Linked DNA regions of Homo sapiens: regions 1, 2, 3, 5, 6 and 7 are each linked to region 4. The links are contacts of gene promoters, found by promoter capture Hi-C in blood cells and fetal thymus (Javierre and others, 2016). All regions are on one chromosome and are shown on one strand. The core of a region is centred on a gene start or on the middle of the fragment in contact, and the rest is flanking DNA. Distances in the headings are between cores, read along the strand shown. Region 1 overlaps LRBA (LPS responsive beige-like anchor protein). Region 2 overlaps LRBA (LPS responsive beige-like anchor protein). Region 3 overlaps LRBA (LPS responsive beige-like anchor protein). Region 4 holds the start of MAB21L2 (mab-21 like 2). Region 5 overlaps LRBA (LPS responsive beige-like anchor protein). Region 6 overlaps LRBA (LPS responsive beige-like anchor protein). Region 7 overlaps LRBA (LPS responsive beige-like anchor protein).

Evidence for each region. Contacts are between HindIII fragments. The CHiCAGO score rates a contact against its expected background, and 5 or more counts as called.
Region 1: a contact is called between a fragment that was not itself captured here and the fragment with the promoter of MAB21L2 in region 4, in 1 of 17 cell types (megakaryocytes). The highest score is 5.3, in megakaryocytes.
Region 2: a contact is called between a fragment that was not itself captured here and the fragment with the promoter of MAB21L2 in region 4, in 3 of 17 cell types (megakaryocytes, endothelial precursors and M1 macrophages). The highest score is 9.8, in megakaryocytes.
Region 3: a fragment that was not itself captured here is called in contact with the fragment with the promoter of MAB21L2 in region 4 in 1 of 17 cell types (megakaryocytes); the score reaches 5.4 in megakaryocytes.
Region 5: a contact is called between a fragment that was not itself captured here and the fragment with the promoter of MAB21L2 in region 4, in 1 of 17 cell types (megakaryocytes). The highest score is 6.2, in megakaryocytes.
Region 6: a contact is called between a fragment that was not itself captured here and the fragment with the promoter of MAB21L2 in region 4, in 1 of 17 cell types (megakaryocytes). The highest score is 7.4, in megakaryocytes.
Region 7: a fragment that was not itself captured here is called in contact with the fragment with the promoter of MAB21L2 in region 4 in 1 of 17 cell types (megakaryocytes); the score reaches 5.1 in megakaryocytes.

What each region holds. Positions count from the first base shown.
Region 1 is chr4:150,425,417-150,428,537 of GRCh38, forward strand. The region is part of intron 46 of LRBA (LPS responsive beige-like anchor protein); the gene reads right to left. Among named protein-coding and RNA genes, the nearest start is that of LRBA-AS1, 150 kb to the right of the region's middle. The HindIII fragment of the contact is 1,368 bases long and covers 750-2,117 here.
Region 2 is chr4:150,328,916-150,332,223 of GRCh38, forward strand. All of the region lies in intron 48 of LRBA (LPS responsive beige-like anchor protein), which reads right to left. Among named protein-coding and RNA genes, the nearest start is that of LRBA-AS1, 250 kb to the right of the region's middle. The HindIII fragment of the contact is 1,323 bases long and covers 674-1,996 here.
Region 3 is chr4:150,346,589-150,349,584 of GRCh38, forward strand. All of the region lies in intron 48 of LRBA (LPS responsive beige-like anchor protein), which reads right to left. Among named protein-coding and RNA genes, the nearest start is that of LRBA-AS1, 230 kb to the right of the region's middle. The HindIII fragment of the contact is 7,057 bases long and covers 1-2,996 here.
Region 4 is chr4:150,580,696-150,583,675 of GRCh38, forward strand. It overlaps MAB21L2 (mab-21 like 2), which reads left to right and starts at 1,456. Exons shown (of 1, transcript NM_006439.5): 1 at 1,456-2,980. The coding sequence starts at 2,335. All of the region lies in intron 40 of LRBA (LPS responsive beige-like anchor protein), which reads right to left. LRBA-AS1 (LRBA antisense RNA 1) reads left to right here. Exons shown (of 2, transcript NR_149035.1): 2 at 1-539. The HindIII fragment of the contact is 6,793 bases long and covers 1-2,980 here.
Region 5 is chr4:150,367,867-150,371,091 of GRCh38, forward strand. All of the region lies in intron 47 of LRBA (LPS responsive beige-like anchor protein), which reads right to left. Among named protein-coding and RNA genes, the nearest start is that of LRBA-AS1, 210 kb to the right of the region's middle. The HindIII fragment of the contact is 4,698 bases long and covers 1-3,225 here.
Region 6 is chr4:150,407,840-150,410,977 of GRCh38, forward strand. The region is part of intron 47 of LRBA (LPS responsive beige-like anchor protein); the gene reads right to left. Among named protein-coding and RNA genes, the nearest start is that of LRBA-AS1, 170 kb to the right of the region's middle. The HindIII fragment of the contact is 1,186 bases long and covers 1,044-2,229 here.
Region 7 is chr4:150,718,518-150,721,526 of GRCh38, forward strand. All of the region lies in intron 36 of LRBA (LPS responsive beige-like anchor protein), which reads right to left. It also overlaps the pseudogene ZBTB8OSP1. Among named protein-coding and RNA genes, the nearest start is that of MAB21L2, 140 kb to the left of the region's middle. The HindIII fragment of the contact is 836 bases long and covers 1,109-1,944 here.

The DNA of each region.
Region 1 (3,121 bases), core at 184-2,683, 160 kb before region 4:
GCAGGTAACATGGCCAACATTTAGTGTATCATCTCCTAAGATAAAAATTTGAAAGGTTCAACCAGAGGTTACACCACAGTTCAGGATAAGCTCATTGCTTTGATCACAAATCCCAAGGCTTTCATGGCATAATGACAAGGATTGGTTGTGACCACACATATGCTTTAGTTTTCTTTATTAAGGTATAATTTCCACTGATATGAACAACCTTTGCAGCCAGGCTGTATGATTCTCCTTTTAATAGTCACCAATTCTATGCACTGAACTAAACCCACCACTTCAATATATTGGGGCAAACATACCAACTACTAATCTATCAACCAAAAAGAAACAAGATAATCAAAATAGAAATAAAAATGAAGAAGCTCCTTTTTAGTTAAAATTAAATATTTATTTCATTTTTCCTAAATATGAAATATTGACAACTCAAATAGAAGCATGATAAATTAGAAGTTAACTAATTTAAGGTGCACTGCTTAGGGACACTGATGGTAAAAAAATGTGAAAGCAAAATTTTAGCTTTTCACCACTGAAAAAATGATTTAAAAAATTGAAAATAAGCTTTCTTAATTAACAAAAAAGAGCTGATTAACAATATATTATAAAAATATAATGTGCATGTTTTGATACATTTTAATTTTCAAGATTTATTTTGTTAGCCCATAATAAAACTTTTAAAAAATTCACTAGAGATCAAGAACATTGAATTGCATTTATAATAGTTATTTTAAATCAACTGCATATCTGAAAGCTTTCAAGTTGATATTTAAATTTAGTTTGTCCTAATTTGGTAGATAAAATGCTGTTTTTTCCTACAGTAAAAGAAAAACAATCATTTTCAAAATTGGAAAAGAAAAAATAATCTATAATCCTTCCAGACCAACCCCATAAATATTATGTGGTTTTTAGATATTATAAAACTGTTATTTCAAATGCATTACAATAAAGAAAAATCATGGATTACAAATCAATAGATAAATGATAATCTATTTCAATCTGATATAGTAGAAAAAATAATTGGGTTTAAGTCTTGTCTACTCAACTTACTGTCACATGTACTCAAATTAATTTAATTTCTGTGACCCTTACTCACCTCAATTGCCATTTCAAAATCACAGGGTTTGCTGTGAGGCTCATATGGGATAATGCGGAATTCTATATATACATAAGATATTATTATCATTAGTAGGATTCATGATAAAAATCCCAAATTACAGACTCAACTTGCCTAAATCCTAAAGCCAATAGGTCATTCACTGAATTATGCCCATTTATAAAAGCATTTAACATAACTCTAAGAATACTTAACAAAACTTACTTTCAAAAATATATATGCCCACAAAAATATTTGAGACTTAATACTTCCTGCCAAATAACTATGACATTCAAAACAAATATATTATTTTTTTTATTAGCAATGACAGTAGGGTTTAACATGCTTCATATTATGATAAATATCCCCAATAATTTATGGTTCTTTCTTGCTTTCAACACATTTTTCACTTCCATGTTTGAAATGGACATCTCCATTGGGCCTTTTGCTGTTCTAGACCCTTATCTCCAAATAAATTATAATTTGGAAAGAAATAATGGGCAATAATAATGCAAACAAAAAGTGAGCTGTAACTGCCGTAAGAGAAGATGCAAATAAAATTTCTGGAATAAGTGGTAGACATATATTTAGTATGGGAGAAGAACCACTTATCTCAGTATCTAAGAACGCATTAATGAACAGTCTACATTTTCTAGTTGAACAAAAAATATGATAAGATCACCAGTCAAAAAACAAATCACACTTGACATATGCATGCATTTTTATAATTCTGGAAGACATGAATATTTTCCAAATGCCTTAATAGGTTTTTAATTTTCCTGTATAGTATGTAAATAGCATGAGAAGAAAAATATTCAGGGTTTCAAGTAATTTTTATCAATGAGCAAAATGTAGTTCATTGTAGACACGAGTACAAACTTCAATACTTAATTAGCACAAAGTTTCATCATTTAACCTACTGATACTTGAAGAAAAGGGCTAAAGAGATGTGGCTAAATTAACAAATCGCAAGTTATCTATAAGTTACGTATAAAAAGCAAGGATAAACAGACATATTTGAGAAAGCTTGAGCTCACTGATGAAAAAGAAGAGAGGCTGGCAAAAAACAGAAGGAAGGAGGGAAGATAGGAAGGAGAAAGGAATGAGCACTTAAGTTGAAAATGTGCAAATGCATGAATAAGGATAAGATTTTAATTTTACTTTCTTTCAGCATTTTTTAAAACTCTAAATTATTAAAATGGTGTCTGAGAACCGGATGCAGATTTTTTTTACTAAGAAAATAAAATTACTAAATCATCGAAGTTTAAGTTTTTTAAAAAATAAATACATTAAGAAATACATTGCCATCAATTATGTTCTATTAACTGTAGCTAAGCATTTTCTTATAAACGGGCCTAATGTTGATGATATCAGCATCCATGGAATGTATTAACATGGTAGAAGATGTGCTGCTAGGGAAAGAAGAAACCTAATTTATCTTCAGATTGCAGACCTCTGGGATTTCTGAGGTAGTAAAGGGAAGTCAAAGGTCTCATGTTTTACAAATCTCACAAGCCACAAAACTATTCTATGATCACCTCTACTGTATATTATTATTTAACATGCATATGTAATTTAAAACTTTTTAAGGGTTAAATATTAAATTATATATGAGTTCATATAATATTACTGCATAGTCATTTATTTTTAAAATAATATTTAGTATCTCTTAGGACTTAATTGCATTCTATTTACTTAACTGTAAATATAGAATATACTTTACTGACCCTACTAACTTCATAACTTAATACACTCACCACTAATGATGCACATTAAATTATAAAATAGGTTTTTAAGTGAAAAATCCAAGATATGACCAGTGATGGTATGTCCATGTTCGCAAAGCTATCACAGTAATAAAATGTAGAAAATTGAATCATTAACAACTTGTGGTCAGCATCTGACATCCAGCTACCAGTTCTCTTGTGGACATAAAATCTCATCCTAAAAAATGAGATGTTAGTAGTCCCACTTCATATCAGGCATATATCCATTTGAGTTTGGCTGTGCCCTTCTGGCTAGAATAAG
Region 2 (3,308 bases), core at 85-2,584, 250 kb before region 4:
ACATATAGTGTTTTGCACTTAACAATGTTTTGAGATGAAAGGTTATGGATGAGACAACTTCTGAAAATACCAATCTCCTCTTTTTAACTAACTTAACTTTAATCTTAACATTTTAATACAAGTGGCACATTACTGAAAACTCTGAGGAAAAGGCTTTTTTAAATCACGTAATATAGTGGTCTGATTATTCTATCTCAATGACAGAATAAAAGCTATAGTCTCTCACACAGGTTAAATAATAATCAATTTTCTTTCCAAGTCTTGAAGGCATCTGAAAAGGCTGTGGAATTCTCAGACACAAATGCTTTACTTCTTAACGAACCTTTCAGTTCTTGATATTAAAAATGCAACAGAAAGGACTTTTTCAAGTGTGAAAATTATAGAATAAGATTGTAAGGTAATGACTATGATCTCAAAACTTTATAGTCACACTGTATATCATCAACTGATAATTCCAGTTCTCCTCCTTGTTTTTAAAATTCATTTGCCATTTTTCATTCATCTTAATCTCTGAAGCAATTTACAGAGATTCTCCCTTCTGTGGCTTCAATGGCTTAATGCTTAGACTGGCTCTGTAGTCTACTCCTTTAATCTCTGTCTTTTGCTGACTTGTCATCCATAAATAAATTTATTACTGTGAGTTCTCTTTTAGCACTATGATTCACTCAACTTAAGCTTGCTTTCTTGGAAATTTTTTCTACTGGGCCTCAAACTCTGCCCCTATCTGAAAGGTTTCCAGTCCTATGACCAGAGGATTGCCCACTCCCATGAAGTTTGCCCTGGCCATCTTGTGTGTAAGCACATGTATGTCTTAGCACATCTAAAATCTTAAAATACTATTTTTTATTTTAGCATTTCTCAGTCAAGAATTAGATTCTTCTGATTTTTTAAAGCTCAGAATCTTGTCTACATTTTAAAAATTTTACCTGTTTCACATATAAAGTCACTAAGCCCAATCACTTCGAAGTTTATCACATTCATCACTCCTTTCTGAATCTAGGCCCCTTATAATTTCAAGTATCGATTATTATAACAGTCTCTTTGCTGGTTTTCCCCCTCTATTCAGTTTCTGCCTCCAGCATATCCTGCAGAACTAAGTTTTCCCAAACTCGCCTTTATGCAATATTTCTCTGATCAAATGTCTTCAAGTGATTCCAGTAATTAAAAGATAAAAGCTAATGCCAGGCATTGCAGGTTTTCCTATCTCTCTAACTTTTATTCTCTCATTCTATCTATTACCTTATACCAGTGTTCCTTTTCAGTCAAGCTGGTTTTCTTCTACAAATATAAGCCATCTCTGCCTTACATTTTCTACCATGCCACTGACCCTCCTAGAATGGTCACTCTTATCTTCAGTTTTCTAAGTTCTACTCCTCTCTAGAAAACCCTGTTTGAGTTCTACCAAGTTTCCCTAATCTTGTTAAATAATATTACACCTGTTCATACTGCTCATTACAGTATATACTTGATTCAGAATTTCCTGTAATGTTATTTATGTCTGTCACTACAACTACACTATAAGGCACTGGTCCCCAAACTTTTTGGCACCAGGGACTGGTTTCATGGAAGACAGTTTTTCCATGGACCTGCTTGGAGGGGTGGATATGGTTTTGGGATGAAACCGTTTTACCTGAGATGACCAGGCATTAGATTCTCATAGGGAGCGTGCAACCGAGATCCCTCGCATGTGCAGTTCACAATAGGGTTTGCATTCCGATGACAATCTAATGCTGTGGCTGATGTGACAGGGGTAGAGCTCAGGCAGTAATGCTTGCCCACCACTCACCTCCTGCTATGCAGCCTGGTTCCTAACAGGCTGTGGCTCGGCGGTCAGGGACCCCTGCTAGAAGGGTCTGAATACCATATATGTGCAACAGGTGGAACAGTACCTTGCACATAGTATTTAGACAACAAAAAATTTACTGAGTGCCTGTTATATAGCAAGCTAGCCAGGAACCCTTATGGCTCATCTATGGTTGGACTGGGGACAAAACCAAGCTTGAGAGATGAGCACACTTCTTGATGAGGGCTGACTGAGGTTGCAGGGGAGGATAAGGAGTGTTAAGTAAAGGCTGGTATTTGCTATTAGAAAGAAACCAAATGAGTCTCTCAGGGAAGCTCTGAAAGATGTCACTAAAGGCAGTAATTCTCATTTCTTCAGATCCAGCATACTGGAGGATAGGACAACACTCCATTGTCTCACTATAGTAGTAATTCTTAAGGTCAAGTGAGAAATCCTGGGGTAATATGTATGATTTGAAAAAGTCCCTCAAGTGATTATGTTTCTTGCCTTATCTTCACTTGCCTATTCAGCCCTCTATATAGAGCAATAAAAAATTTAAAGGCATAAATGAGGTGTGAAATAACAGGAAACATACAAGCATCCTTAAACCCTGTACGGTTCAGCAAGGTGGGTTGGTAATAGGGTAGCTTAACAGACATTACCAAATGCCTCAACTGCTCTTAATGAACTCTCCTTCACCTAGAGAGTTTTGGTGCTAGGTGATCACTTTTTAGACATTCAGTTATGTAACATTTTTTGTTATGGAATAGGATAATGAATCCCCACATATCCATTAGCCACCTTCAATAATTATTAAGACATTTTGGCTTTAGGTTATCTTAAAGTCGGGTCAATCTAGACAATGTCCTAGATAGATTCATTGAAAATTAACAGAGTGCTTCTGCCTTTAAACAATTTATTTTTTTTAACTTCTAATGCAAGACTATACTGAGAATAAAAGTATCTTACAATGACCAAAAATATAAGCATTAGCTGGCAGCCTTCATATTTCTTCTAAGGGGCTGAATATACTCAGACTTGCAAGGAGATGTTCAATCCTTAAGTTGCAAATTTGATTATGTGACTCAAAGCCTTCCGTTCCAAATCCTTACCCTGGGTAGCACCACAGCATAGGATTAAGTATGCAGACACTGGAATCAGACAGCCTCAGTTCAAATCTTACCACTATCACATATTAGCTCAGTGATTCTGGGCAAGGTACTTAACCTTCTGTGCCTTAATTTCCTCTTCTAAAAATTGTGATAATAACTGTCAATATTTTATTGAGTTGTGAGGATTAAATGAGATAATATAAAGCACTTAGAACAGTTCATGGCACATACTAAGCTATCAGTAAGTGTGTGATATTATTACAGCATATATATTAAAGACTTAACACAGTGCCTGGCTAGGGTTAAGCAAGCACTCAATAAATGTTACCAACTACTCATCTTTAAGATGAATAGTTATCTAGCCCCAACCACTGTCCATTTCACCACTCTATAATGTGACATATAATCAACAT
Region 3 (2,996 bases), core at 18-2,517, 230 kb before region 4:
TCTCTACTAAAAATACAAAAATTAGCCGGGCATGGTGGTGCATGCCTGTAATCCCAGCTATCCAGGAGACTGAGGCAGGAAAATCACTTGAACCTGGGAGGCGGAGGTTGCAGTGAGCCAAGATTACACCATTGCACTCCAGCCTGGCAACAATGTGAGACTCTGTCTCAAAAAAAAAAAAAAAAAAAAAAAAAAAAAACACTTATTTGTTATGATGCTTCTTCAAAAAGTTAAACTTGGAATTATCACATAATCCAGAAATTCCATTTCTGGGTGTATATCCAAAAGAATTGAAAGCAGGCATTTGAACAGATGGTGTACATCCATACTCTTGGCCACATTGTTCATAATAGCCAAAAGATGGAAACAACCCAAAATGCCCATTGATATATAAATGGATAAACAAAATGTGGTATATATATATACACAATGGAATATTACTCAGCCTAAAGAGAAAGGAAATTGTGATACATTCTATAGCATGGACAAATCTTGAAGATATTACGCTAAGTAAAATAAGCTAGACATAAAAAGACAAATGTTGCAGCATTCCACTTCTATGAGGTATTCAGGGTAGTCAAATTTATAGAGATAAAAAGTAGCATTGTAATTGTACAGGGACTGGGGAGGAAGGAATGAGGAGTTATTGTTTAATGCTTAGAGAGTTTCAGTTTGGGAAGATGAAACATTTCTAGAGATGGATGGTGGTGATGGCTGTACAAGAATGTCAATGTTCTTGATGCCACTGAACTGTAAACTCAAAAATGGTAAAAATGGCCAGGGGCAGTGGCTCAGGTCTGTAATCCCAGCACTTTGGGAGGCCAAGGGAGGCGGATCACTTGAGTTCAGGAGTTTGAGACCAGCCTGGGCAACATGGTGAGACCCCATCTCTACTAAAAATACAAAAATTAGCCAGGCGTGGTGGCAGGCACCTGTAATTCCAGCTACTCAGGAGGCTGAGGCAGGAGAATCACTTGAACCCAGGAGGCGGAGGTTGTAATGAGCTGAGCTTGCGCAACTGCACTCCAGCCTGGGTGAAAGAGCGAGACTCTGTCTCAAAAAAAAAAAAAAAACAAAGGTAAAAATGTTCAATTTTATGTTATATATATTTATCACAATAAACAATTTTATTTGAAATTATAATGTGTTAGTTTAGGTGAAAGAAAAAATATAATTGAGCTTACACCTATATTCAAATATATATCTAATGTCTACATGGAGTATTCCCACTTTGAAATATCCTACCAAGTCAATTTAACATTTATTTTTCCATTGTCTGATCACATATGCTGAACTCAGAGTAAGAAAAGATGGTCAAAGACAAACATAAGTCTTCTAACTCTCTGCTGTACAATGCTGTAGCCTCTAGTCATCTGTGCCTATTTAAATTTATATTAATTAAAATTAAGCATTTAGTTCCTTAGTCACACTAGCCACATTTCAATGTACAATAACTACATATGGTTCATGGTTTATTAGACAGTGCAGATAGAGAACATTTCCAGCACTGCAGAAAATTCTAGACAGTGTTCTTCTAGATTAACGCACAGTAAACTTCCTTAAACAATCATTGGTGTGTAAGTGGGGACAGTGGTCAATCCAGAATAAAAATAAAAAGCCAAGCACATAGAGTGACTCATAGAGGAAATAACTAGCTGATTGAGTGTACTACTTGTTAACTAGCCATGACAAACAGATATAGGCCAAGTGACATTTTTAATCATGAAAACATTGCGTAACCTTTAATGAAAAGTAGAGCTACTTATGTCATCTTGGACATACCAAGAGACAAGTCTTTTAAGTAATAGGATCTTGCATTGAGAGAAACAGTGTTAAGCATATTTTCACAGCAACTCTATAGAACATTACAGAATTTCAAAATTAGAAATACGGAGATTGCATATAGTGACACAAAAAATATATACTGGCATAGTAAGTACAACCAATTTATGCTGGTACAAAAAACAATATGCTGGTATATTAAATACAACCAATCTCTTTTTAAGAAATTATAAAATCAGTTCTACAGTGAGAATTCAGTTATATATCAGCTATGTAGAGATATGGATAATTACTACAGGATAACAGGAGAAAACAAAAATAGCTGGTATATTTGTTGAAGAATTATGGGCATTTAACAGAATAAAGTATTACGTTCAAATATTGCCAAAATGAACAAAAAAAAGAAAGTAAATAGGCCTATGCTATTTTATCCCAACAATAAAACTATGCAGTGTTTTGTAACACTACCTGTATGTTGCTCTCACCTCAATACCTTTATGGAATCCTATGTATATTCTGTGTCATACAGTCAATTGATGTTCTGATCAAATAAAATACCCCCAGAAGGAGTATTTTCAAAAAACTGAACAACTGGAAGAGTCTTTAAGAGTTTATGTGACCCAATTCTCTGCTACCACAGTTTTTAAAACTGAAACATAGCAATTTAAAACTTGGGCAATTTAATGCAAGTGTACATCTAGTACACAGTGCTTTTGTGTGCATGCTAACTTATCTAGCACATAAGCCAGGTGATAATATGCCAATTTATTTAAATATGTACTTACATACCTTCCGCATGATCAGATCTTAGTAGAACTATAAAAGAATGCATCAAGTGCTAGGGAAAAATGGCAAATCTCACACATTACAAATAATGTTCCCTTCAAAGTGATATATAACTTGCCCCATGAATCAAAGCTCCTGGTTTCCTAAACGCAGTTGTGTTCTAAAATTGTACAGATTAAGGTTGTATCATTCAATTCTATAATTTTTCATATGAAGTATATTGGAATTAGAAGGATGCATAATTAGATTAGAAATACTAAAAAAAGTAAGGTCTTCTACAGACTTTTTGGTGAGTGCTGCATTTGCCAAAATCATGTTTTAAGTGTTTTACTTGAGAAAATAAATGACAAGAATAAAACAAGTTCAATAACATCTAACAACAATTTGATCACATAGGAAAGATTTGGACTTCAACCCCCCCATTAACT
Region 4 (2,980 bases), core at 206-2,705:
AAACCCTCAGTATCAAGCAAATCAGAAACAATGTTCTAGCTTTTTTTTTCACCCAAAAGTATGGAAAGGCTACAGTGGGTACAACTCGTTTAGGATAATACATATACTAAAAGCACATGCATGCCTTTCATTGAAATGCCTAGGGAGGAGTGAAGCCATCTGTGTAATCAATAACAGGATAGTTATAGATTTTTGTGGCAGTGAAGTCTTTTAAAAGCAAGAGTCAATTATGAAAATAAAATCATTTTACAAATGAAACTCTGTACCTGTACCCCCTAAGAATACATTCACAATTAGATTTACAACAGTAAGATTTTAAGAAAACTTTAGGTTTACATTTACTTGCCTTGTTTTTCATTAAGTTTGAAGCAATTTTAGTAGCTTATTTTAAAAGTATATCCTACTAAGTTCTACGACATGTAAGTTTGCACCATTTCTCACAACTTAGATATTTTCTCTCTCGTAACTAGTTAATTCTTGTAACGATAAAATAATGGTATTAAATACATGTGAATCTTAATTATGAAATAATTATCAAACAAGGTGCTTGGACTAGTTTTTGCCCTGCCCTGTTTTTAAACAGCATATCGAAATTACTAAAAAGAGATTTATAAACCCTCACCTTATATCCACTCCAACCCTCACTGGTGCACATATACAGCAACTGCTCTGATTCTTGGCAACAATGGGAGGGGAGGGGAAGAGAAAGGAGGATGACTTTAAAGGAGGAAAAAACCTGGAAAAATTAGGTCCTTTCCCAGATTCCCCTTTCGCTTCCCATTTGCCTTCAAGCCAAAGTAATTTTGTTACAGTTTGCACCTTCTACTACACAATGTTGATAGAATCATTTAAAAAAAAAAAAAGTGAACCTTTCTGAACCATTGCTACTCTCCCTCGCGTTATTCCAGCCATCTCCAGGAGAGTCCCTTCTATATAAACTCTTTTTCTTCTTTGCTACTGATAAGAGAGGAGGATAAAGAGGAACGGCTGTAAAATGTGTGCAAGCATTTGACTCCCATTATCTCCTCCTATTTTCTTACTTCTCTCTTTACCCTGTTTCTTTATCAAGTGCAGTGGTGGCTGCTACCGTTCGCCAAGCGTGCCTGTCTTCTCTCTCGGATTGGCTAAAGCACTGACAGCTCGGATAGCGATTGTAGGAACTGAAGCTCCACCCCCTCATGATGGCCCTGGGACCATTCATAAACTAAATAACTCCAGGAAACAGCGAGGGAGAGAGAGAAAGAAAGAGAGAGGGAGAGAGAGAGACAGAGAGAGTTAGAGGAAAGAAGAGAGAGCGAGCACGAGGAAGGGGGGCGGGGGAGAGAAGCAGGGGGAGAGCGGGGCGAGAAAGAGGTCGGAGGGGAGAGGAGGGGGAGAGACGACTCAGAAAGTGGAATCTGTAAAAGCAAGCTAGAGGAGAAGAAGGAAAACCCTGAATCGTTATAACTACACCCCAGATGCAACGCAAGCAACGACTTCGTCACACTAAAACGGATTTTGTGAGGGCCAAAAGTATAAATTACGAAGCAGAAATGATTATCAAACAACTTCCAGCGGTTTGCACCTAAAGAAACACAAGGAGAACCCACTACAAACAAACAAACCCAGTCCAAACAACGCCTCCAGTAGGAAAAGAGGAAAACTGCGATAACACGACCCCCCGAGAAGAGACGAGACCAACACGCTGAGACTGTGGGGCGTCAGCAAACCTCCAAGTGCACGGCGGACTGAGTTGTACTTCGCAGCTCTCTGGACATTAATTACCTCCTGCACCTTCCATTTGGGGGAGGGTGAGGAAGAAGGCACTCACCTACACTGAGCGAAGAAGTCCTATCAGCGTGGAAGAGAAGTTTAAGAATGAACCACTGAATGTTTCGCTTTTATTTTTAAATTTACTTTGGCACTTAAAAAACCTCATTTCCAGATTTCTGGACAATCTCGGCTGCAGACATCTAAGCCTAACCTTTTGGTATCCTGAGTTTTTTCCCTCTCCTTCTCCTTCCTCACGCCCACCCCGCTTCTCTCGCACACGGTCATCTTTACATATCAAGAGAAAGCAAAAAGGTTCCAAGAGGTACTTTTCTTTTTAGAAAATCACCTTTTCTCCCCTAATTCTTCTGCAGAAGAAAAGAGGTTTCGAAAGAGGGAAAAGGAAAAAACAAGCCGGCTACGGTATCAGCCGGTCAGCCCAGGTGGAAAACGAGAGTGAAAGTAGGGCTTAACGGGGAGCGCACCGCCTCTTTCGAAAGCCGCTGGGCCACCACCAGTGCGTGAGCCTTGGATCCCTCAACGTATTGCGAGACGCCGGTGTATAGCCCGGACCTGTGCCCCAACATGATCGCCGCTCAGGCCAAGCTGGTTTACCAGCTCAATAAGTACTACACTGAGCGCTGTCAGGCGCGCAAGGCGGCCATCGCCAAAACCATCCGAGAGGTCTGTAAGGTGGTCTCGGACGTGCTCAAGGAAGTGGAGGTGCAGGAGCCTCGCTTCATCAGCTCCTTGAGCGAGATCGATGCCCGCTACGAGGGGCTCGAGGTCATTTCGCCCACCGAATTTGAGGTGGTGCTCTACCTAAACCAGATGGGCGTCTTCAACTTCGTGGACGACGGCTCGCTGCCCGGCTGCGCAGTGCTCAAACTGAGCGATGGGCGGAAGCGGAGCATGTCTCTCTGGGTCGAGTTCATCACGGCGTCGGGCTATCTCTCAGCGCGTAAGATCCGCTCGCGTTTCCAGACGCTGGTGGCCCAGGCGGTGGACAAGTGCAGCTATCGGGATGTGGTCAAGATGATCGCGGACACCAGCGAGGTCAAGTTGCGCATCAGGGAGCGCTATGTGGTGCAAATCACTCCGGCGTTCAAGTGCACCGGGATCTGGCCTCGCAGCGCGGCACAGTGGCCTATGCCCCACATCCCTTGGCCCGGCCCCAATCGGGTGGCCGAGGTCAAGGCCGAAGGGTTCAACTTGCTCTCGAAGGAGTGCT
Region 5 (3,225 bases), core at 212-2,711, 210 kb before region 4:
AATAAATGGCATCTTAAAAAGGCAACATAAACGCATTTAAGATTGTCAATATAATCCCTAAACTCTATCTCTGGATATTTTCTGTAACTTTAGAAATGGTAATATTAAAAAGACATAGACTAAGAAATAGTATATTACTGTATTTTTAAAAGGCCACCATGTGCTATAAAAAAGGATTGAAAGCAACACAGGGACAGTGAGGTATCCTTCAAACTCAGCCATTAATAACTCAAGGGGGTTAATCCTCATTCTCTCAAGGTGCCGGTTCCAGATTTTCACAATATGCTATGCTGCTGTAGTCCTCCGAGATTTCAGTGCTCACTTCATAATACCCCCAATTCACAGTTTACCTTCGGAGAAAACTACTGTTCATTATCTGAGCTCCAGAAAATGTTCCCATCAGTGGTACTACTTTAACACAAGATTTAAAAACTCAGATACTTCCTTAAAAAGGAAAAAAAAATACTATAAAGCAAAATTGTCCATTAAACTACAATTTTTTAGAAAATGAAAGGTTGTTTTATACCCACCATATGGCATCACATTATCACTCTGGACAGCACATACAGAGTACTGGCTAACAGTCTAACAAAAGTTAAATTTAAACAGCATCTAAGTTAGAACATTACTGAAGCATTTTCAGGCTATGTATATACAAAAACATTTAAAATTTACTTTTCATTATGTAACAATCTAAGGAATACTGTATCTTCACTAAAGGTAACAACGATCAGTTGTTTATTTAAAAAAACAAATCACTAAAATGTTTGAAAACCAGTCCACTTTTCATGTGGATGTTTATATTTCACTTAATCATCCTTCTTGGAAAGACAGCTCTAAAGGAAGAAAATACTGAGAACCAAATCCTGTTTAACTTACACAAGGTGATGTCAAGTAATTTAAAAAACATATTCTAAAAAGAGCTTCTTCTGTACACATCTAAAGACATTACTGCATTATCTAATTGTTCTCTTCCTCTCACTCATGTTAACAGGATAGATGTCTTTTTGTGTACCATATTTGGTTTCACTGGCACATAGCCTGAAAACAGATTAAACTGTTTGGAGTGTTCAAATATCTGATGGTGTATGGACTGTGGGAATAAGAGACTGGAGACTCAGAAGCTGATAGTTCCCAAACAGCTATTTTCCTTCTTTCTTTTTTAAAAATAAATGAACCTTGAGTCAGATTAATTAAACACTGGTTATAAGACTCAATATTCCTAGTAGATAAATAGATGTTTGAAGACTTAGTCAATTTCAGGCCCAAAAGTAAGTATTACTAGGTGTAAAATTTGTTTAAAAGATGTCATTAAAATATTACATATTAAGGTGGTCCTCTTAATATAATCTTGATGTCTTTTAACTATCTCATTCTTTCTCTTCTCCATGGACATCATGTTTTGCAAAATGTTATCAAATAATCAAATGTTATAAAATAATCTCACAAAGATGCATATATCTGCCAGACCTTCTGATTAGGAGATAACCAGTGGTGCTAACCTGATATAATTTAGCTGAAAGCACAAGAAGGTTGAATTTAACCCAGGTTGCCTTTTTATAGGTAAATGTACTATGTTCAGAATGCTTAGAAATTGCTGTGGTGGCTCTAATGGTTCAACAACCTTTGGCTGAGACCCACTGAACACATACAAACATATGATGCCTAAAAAAATATACTTTTTTTTTTTAGACCAAACACCTTTGTTTCAGGTACTGCTAAGAAATATAAGAGCTGCAAAATAATTATAACAAAATGCTTACTTATGCAGAATTTTAACTTTAGATTCATTGAAAGAACTATCAAACTTTTTGACAGATTTTGCTAAGTATTGTACGTATATAAAAAAGAAAATATAAATGAAATATTTGTAAAATGTTTGAGAGTCTACCTCTTCTGAAATGCTTCCTGATTCAAAGGTGTTGATTTCTGTGTTTCTCCATATAGTACTGTCCTCCATGCCTTTATAAGAGCATTAGTGAGGCAGCATTTTTTAAAGAGTCCTCCATTATTACATTTGAACTTTTCTTCCAAGTATCATACTACAAATTATGATGCTGACATGTTCTTGATCTTTTTGACAGCCTTGTACACGTGCCTTAGGGCTCCCAGTGCTTTCTTCATGACTGCTCAATTTCTAGCCTCTTCTAGTTTAACTATGATACTTCTATCTCAACGCCTCCACTGTGATAACTCTATCTTAAAACTTACCAAAATACATTAAGAAATAATGTTTTGTGGAGTGGAAGACAGTTTGGCAGTTTCTTACAAAACTAAACATTCTCTTACCATATGATCTAGCAGTTGCACTCTTTGGTACTTACCCAAATGAGAGGAAAATTTATGCTCACACAAAATCCTTAACATAAATGCTTACAGAAGTTTTATTCACAATTGCCAAAAGTTGGAAACAACCAAGATATATTTTAGTAGGTGAATGGATAAACAAACTATGGTCCATCCATACAATGGAATATTATTCCAAAATAAAAAGAAATGAGCTATCAAGTCACACAAAGACATAGAGGAATCTTAAATGCATGCTACTAAATGAAAGAAGCCAATCTGAAAAGGTTACATACTATATGATTCCAACTATATGATACATTGGAAAAGGCAAAACTATGGGGACTATAAAAAGATCAGTGGTTGCCAGGAGTGGAGGAGGAAGGGGGAATGAATAGGTGGAGCATAAGGAATTTTTAGGACAGTAAAACTATTCTGTATGGTACTATACATTTGTCAAAACCTACAGGAAGTCTAACATAAAAGTGAACCCTAATATAAACCAAAGACTTTAGTTAATAATAATGTATTGATATTGGCTCATCAGTTATAACACAGTAAGTGTACCACACTAATGCAAGATGTTAATAATATGGTGTACTGAGATGAGGAATAGTAAGAGGTATATATGAGAACTCTCTAAAGGTTCTGCTCAAATTTTCTGTAAGACTAAAACTGCTCCAAAAAATAAAACTGATAATTTTTTAAAACATGATGTTTATATTTTTCTCCTCTTCTTTGTCTTCCAAAGAATATCTCATGCCTAAGAAAGTTGCTGGCACATATTATGGGTTTCAATTGCTACTTTCTAAAGCGAAAGGAGTATGGAACCCAAAAGAAGGATCTCAAACCCTTCATTCCCACCAAATGTGCCACGGCCTACAGAGAAAGAAGCATTAATTAACACATTTAATTAATTAAACTCACACTTTTCATATC
Region 6 (3,138 bases), core at 387-2,886, 170 kb before region 4:
AGAATTGCATAAGCTGAATGAAAACAAGGAAACAAAATATCAAAATTTATGAGATACAGCAAAAACCACACATAACGAGAAAATTGTAATTGGAAAACCTGATATTGGAAGAGAAGAACTCAAATAAAAAAACTAGGTTTCCAATTTAATAATCTAGTTAGAGTAAACTAAACCCAAAGCAAGCAAAAGGAAAGAAAGAATGAATATTAGAGCGAAAACTCAACGAAAGAGAACACAGAGACACCATAGAGGAAACCAGTGAAACAAAAAGTTGGCTCTTTGAAAAGACAACAAAATTGACAAACCCTTTTAGCAAGACTGAGCCAGAAAAAAAGATAACACCAATTACCAAAAATCAGTATAAATGAGGTAATATCATTACTAACCTTAGAGAAATTAAAATGATAATAAGTCATACTATGAACAACTTTATAAAAATAAATTAGTTAAATGGACAAATTCCAAGAAAGAAATAAATTACTGACATAGATTCAAGAAAAAATTTAAAAAAAATCTTGATAGACCTATAAAAACTAAAAAAACTGATTTGGTAATTTAAAATCTTCTCACAAAGAAAAGGCCATGCCTAAATAGCGTCAGTGGTGAATTCCACCAAACATTTAAAGAAGAAATAATATGTAGCATTCACAAAGTCCTTCAAAAATATAGAGGAAGAAGGAACACTGCCATGTCTCATTCTATGAGACTAGTATTACCCTGATAATAAAGTCAGATGAGGATATCACAAAAAAACTGCAAACTAATATTCCTCATAAATATAGATTCAAAAATCCTCAAAAGTAGTAATTCCTCAAGAAAATACTAACAAAACAAAAATCCAGGACATATCAAAAGAACTTAAAACATATAAGTGTAATATATTTGTGAATGCAAGGCTGGTTTAACAACCAAAAATCAATTTATATAATATATCATATTTCACTTTTTTGTTTCTTGCTTGAAAATCTTTCCCTATTCCAATATCACATAGAAATTCTCCTGTATTATCTTGTTAAAGTTTATAGTTTTACCTTTATATATAAAGCTTTAATATACTTTCATTTTGTTTGTGGCATAAAATAAGGTTCCAATTAAAATTTTTTTCCCCATATATCTGCTATAGGTTGAATTGTGGCCACTCCCCCCAAATTTTTATGTTAAAGTCTCAACCTAACAGCACCTCAGAAGGTGGCCTTATATGAAAATTGGGTCATTACAGAAGTCTTTATTTAGGATAGGCCATACTGGAGTAGGGTGAGTCCTTAATCTAATATGAATGGTGTCCTTATTAAAAGGAAAAATTTGGACAGACAGACATGCATAGAGGGAGGATGATGTGAAGAGACACAAGGAGAAGACAGCCACATATAAGCCAATCAGAGGGCTAGAACAGGTCCTTCCCGTACAGCATTTAGGAGAAATCAACCCTGCTAAACTTTGATTTCAGACCTCTGGACTCCAAACCTGTGAGACAATAAATTTCTGTTGTTTCTACCCAGATAATCATACTTTGTTACAGAAGCCCTAGGAAACTAATAAAATAACTATTTATCTCAGAATCCTAAATTGAAAAGTCCTTCCTTTCCCCACAGTTCTGCAATACTAGCTCTATAATGGATGAGGTTTCTTTACATATCCTGGCCTATTTCTGGGTTCTCTGTTCACTTTTCCTGTACTACTTCTCCTTCCCTAATTACTATAGCTTTATAATAATTTTTGATATCTAGTAAAGCAAGTCCCTCTGAAATCTGCTCTTGTTCCCCAAAAGGATTTTGGCCATAATGGTCCTTTGCTCTTTAAAATCAGTTTATCATCTTCCAACAAAACAAAGTAAACCTACTGAATGGTTTTTATATTTTTACATTGACTTTATAAATAAATGTGGGGAGAATTAACAATCTATCAATATGGCAAATCTTTTTTCCTCTTATTTAGGTGTCCTCGTTTTTTAACTAAAAATTTCACAGTAAATTACATATCACGGCTAAAAGCAAACCAAACAATAGTAATTTTAGACTCTTCATACCTATCTCCCTACATTCCCAGGGAATTTAAATCCAACCACTGCACTGGGAGTAAAGAGGATGAAGACATGAGAGGGAGATACCCTCAGCTAACAATAATTATTTCCAACTGCAGCCACCACGGCTGTTTACATTCTTGGCCACATCATTATCAATATGGGAAATGAAAAGGAAACAATAACAACAAAAAAAACAATTTGAAAAAAGCTTCTGGCATTTCAATTCCAAAAATTTTTTTTTTTAAATGTTGTCTGGTCAGTGGTCTTAAGAATGTCATTTCCCCACTCTTGTTCAGTGGGGGGCATGACAGTCTGTCTCTATGCTGTCATCACTTGAGAAGTGTAAATTTTCCATTCAGAGAAAAAAATTATACAAGATTGACCTAATTCATTCAGAGGTGTAAGATCTATAAAGGTTTATGTTGAATAGATTTAAATTTTAGCAATGATAGAAACAAGTTTAGATTTTATTTCTTTATCAACCTTGTTTTTTCCTGTCAGGCAATACTATGAAAGGACAGCATCTCTTTTAACTTGTCCACATATTCTCTGATGATAATGGAAAGCAGATAGTATATTCATTTTATTTTTCTTTACCTTGTTAAGTGAGTACTATTTGTGTCACCATTATGAAATAGTAGAGGAGACAAAAGCTATAGAACATACACAAAAGTAAATGTGATTTTAACTGGTAACCTTAGGACAATTCAACAAGAGAACGCTTCCTTTGCTATATTAATGCCACCTCCAGGCCTTGAGAAGCTTTCTGTTTCAACAAGGTATCAAAGAGAAGGTAATCTCCAAATAGGGATATTGTCTCTTATTCATCGAATCTAATAGTGCTGGTCCATAAGCAAGCACCCAATAAATACATGTTAAATGAATGAACTATTATAATTTGAATCAATTATGTATATTATGTATCTTTTGGCTAAAACAAAATGCTCTATTTTTAAAGGTCAACTTTTAGTGATTCTCCCCAGAGTATGGTTTTCTTTGTCTCTTATTCAACATGAAACTTGAAGGTTATAAGAGGCAGTATAATATGTAGGTCCAAACATTGACATTATATCATAAGAGACAGATGATGGGCATTCCGAACTCATAAATTTTTC
Region 7 (3,009 bases), core at 277-2,776, 140 kb after region 4:
CATGAGCATACTTCAACCAATTGAAGTTTGTTGAAAAAGGGTAAAGACTAGCAGACATAAGAAAAAATATACGTTTGCTCTCTTAAAATTGACTCTGATGTAGAAGAGATGAACAAATATATTTTCTCTGCTAAAATTTTAAGTAACAACAATATTTATTTGGAAATATTTCTTGTTTTATTTAGAAATTTTATTATAACACCTTAAAATACTACACAATATTGCAAATCTCATAGCACAATGATTAAAATGAAAAACTATATTAGACAAAACATAAAATTAAATAGCTTAGAATAAAGCTGCAATGTATTCGAGGATTAGATCCTATTCACACGGTCTTTAGAAATCTAATAAAATTTGAACCAAATTCATAGATTAGTAATTGGGAAACAGATTACCTGGATCTGGATCCAAGTTGTAACTCTAGGTTATTTCTACTTCATGCTATTTTCAAACTTATAAAATGAGGGATAATATCAGTACTATCTCAGAGGTTTGTTGTAAGAATTAGTTGCTACTTATATATACCTCTAATAGCTACTGAAATAGCATAAGGATTCATGAAATATTAGCTACTGTTGGCACCATCATTCCTCACCGAAACTGAAAATATATATACTTTTCAGATCAAATCAATTTAATCTCTTTCACAACAGAGTTTTAGAAACATTTCTTCAATTTTCAATTCCACATTTCCACCTTCCTCGTTCTCTCTCATTCATACACCAATTCCACGTTTACTCCATCATTCTCTCTCATTCACACACAAAAGAACACACACTACCCACCACCACAATCACTAAATTTCAAATTTAAAAAAAGTGCAATCTTAACCCATAGTTACAACAAAGAAAGCATCTCCATAATTAATTAGAAAGTACACTAAGAAATAGATTCCAGGTTAGGATGGTAGGCTGATATTGCAATTACATATTTTTTCCTTCCTCATTTCCTAAAAACAAATTAGCAAAAAATAAATAAATAACAAAAAATAATTTTTAAAAATAATGAAACAATGTAAGGAATGTACCATAAATCACCAAACATTAAAAAATTGGTTGCCAAGGGGAACAAAAACAAACTGGTTCTAGAACTGAGGGAGCAACAAAGCTTAGTTCTTAATCATGTCCCCATGCCCCCAAAGCAATATTGGTAAGTTGACAAAATTCTGATAATTTTCTTAACGCCTTCAAATACAGAGAGAAACAAACTGAGTAGGTAACGTTACCTCTTTCCTCTTCTACCTGGAGATGCCAGAAAAACTTACAGAACAAATACTGGTGAAGCAAGAAATTGAAAAATGCGGCTGATTCACTAAAACAGAAGTAAACTCGACTCTACTCTCTTAAATGACTGAGGGAAATGATTCAAAGCCTAAGCACATCTTCCCATGAGAACTGTCTATAGTCTAATGAGATAGAATGAACTTGGTAGAAAATATTTAACAAAATCTTAGAAAAAAATGAGGATTTCTAAGAAAGACTCCTCACCTATTTCAAATAAGCTCTTCCTCTTCATGATAGGCCATAGGATATTCTACAAAAATCAAACTGTAGCTCAGGAGAGGGAAATATTAGCTTTACACAGAGAATGGAGAGGGAAATAAGTCACTAAGATATCCTGTTGTCTAAGCCAACAGAATATCTGCACAGAGCATTCTAAGAATGAACACAATGGAACAAAAAAGTATGGTAGTTATACAAACATATAGCACCAATCAATCAACAAATAAGTTAATACATAAATTTAAAATAAAACGTTAATATAGAAAAGACAAAACATCTGATGAAAAAGTATCTCAAGGAGTAAAAGAAAATTATTCATGATTATTTTTTCTAATGAACAACATAACAAAAACATAATGCAAATAAGATAAAACTCAAAATAAAGTGACTAAGGAAAGAGGCTGAAGTCCTAAATAAACAAAATTAGGAACAAAACATAAGCTTTATAGACATAATAAATAAATTACAAATAAATATCCCGGACAAAATAAAACATTAAAAATGTACTTACTGGTGGAAAAATAAGGCTAAGGATCAAAGAAAGTCAAGCAACTAAGGAATAACTAATAGATGTGAAAGACAAACATATATCTAACATATTATTAAGTGTTACTAAGCAAGAAAAAACAAAATAAAGTGAAAGTGGTATTTCAAAGTATAATCTAAAAAATTTTCTAAGAACTGAAGGAAAAATCAGAATCTGCTGATTATAACAAGAAACTATGTCCCAGGATAATTTGATAAATAATGTTCAATACTGAACCATATTCCTCTTAAAGAATTTTTTGGACAAAGAAATCACAGGCAGAAGACACAAAAAGCAAATCAGAAATTAAGGGAAAATATCAGACTGTCCTCTGAAAGCAACATTCAAAGTCAGAAGATAACAAAGCAATGTCTGCAAAGTTCTAAGGGAATTTAAGTGTTACCCAACAATATTAAGTCAAGCAAGGCAGTCATGGCACAGAAAGAGGGAGATGTTAGAGATTACAATTTGACTGAGGAACAGAAGGCGATCAAGGCCAACTATCCTCCAGTTAATAGGAATTATGAGTATTTGGATCATACAGCAGATGTCCAGTTACACACATGGGGAGATACTCTGGAGGAAGCATTTGAGCAATGTGCAATGGCCATATTTGGTTACATGATAGATACCAGGACTGTGGAGCCTCTCCAAACAATAGAAGTAGAAACCCAAGAAGTTTCTACTTTTCTTTTTCACTTTTTAGATGAGTGGCTTTATAAGTCCAATGCTGATGAATTCTTCATACCCTGGGAAGTGAAAGTACTTTGTATTGATCAAAGACATTTCCAATTACAATCAATTGGGTGGAGAGAAGAATTTTCATTGTCCAATCACCCTCAGGGAACCGAAGTCAAAGTTATAACATATTCAGCAATGCAGGTCTATAATAAAGAAAACCCAGAAGTTTTTGTGATCATTGACATTTAAGACCAAAAAAGAAAAGACTCCTAAGAAGAACTGGGTTTTTTTTTTTTC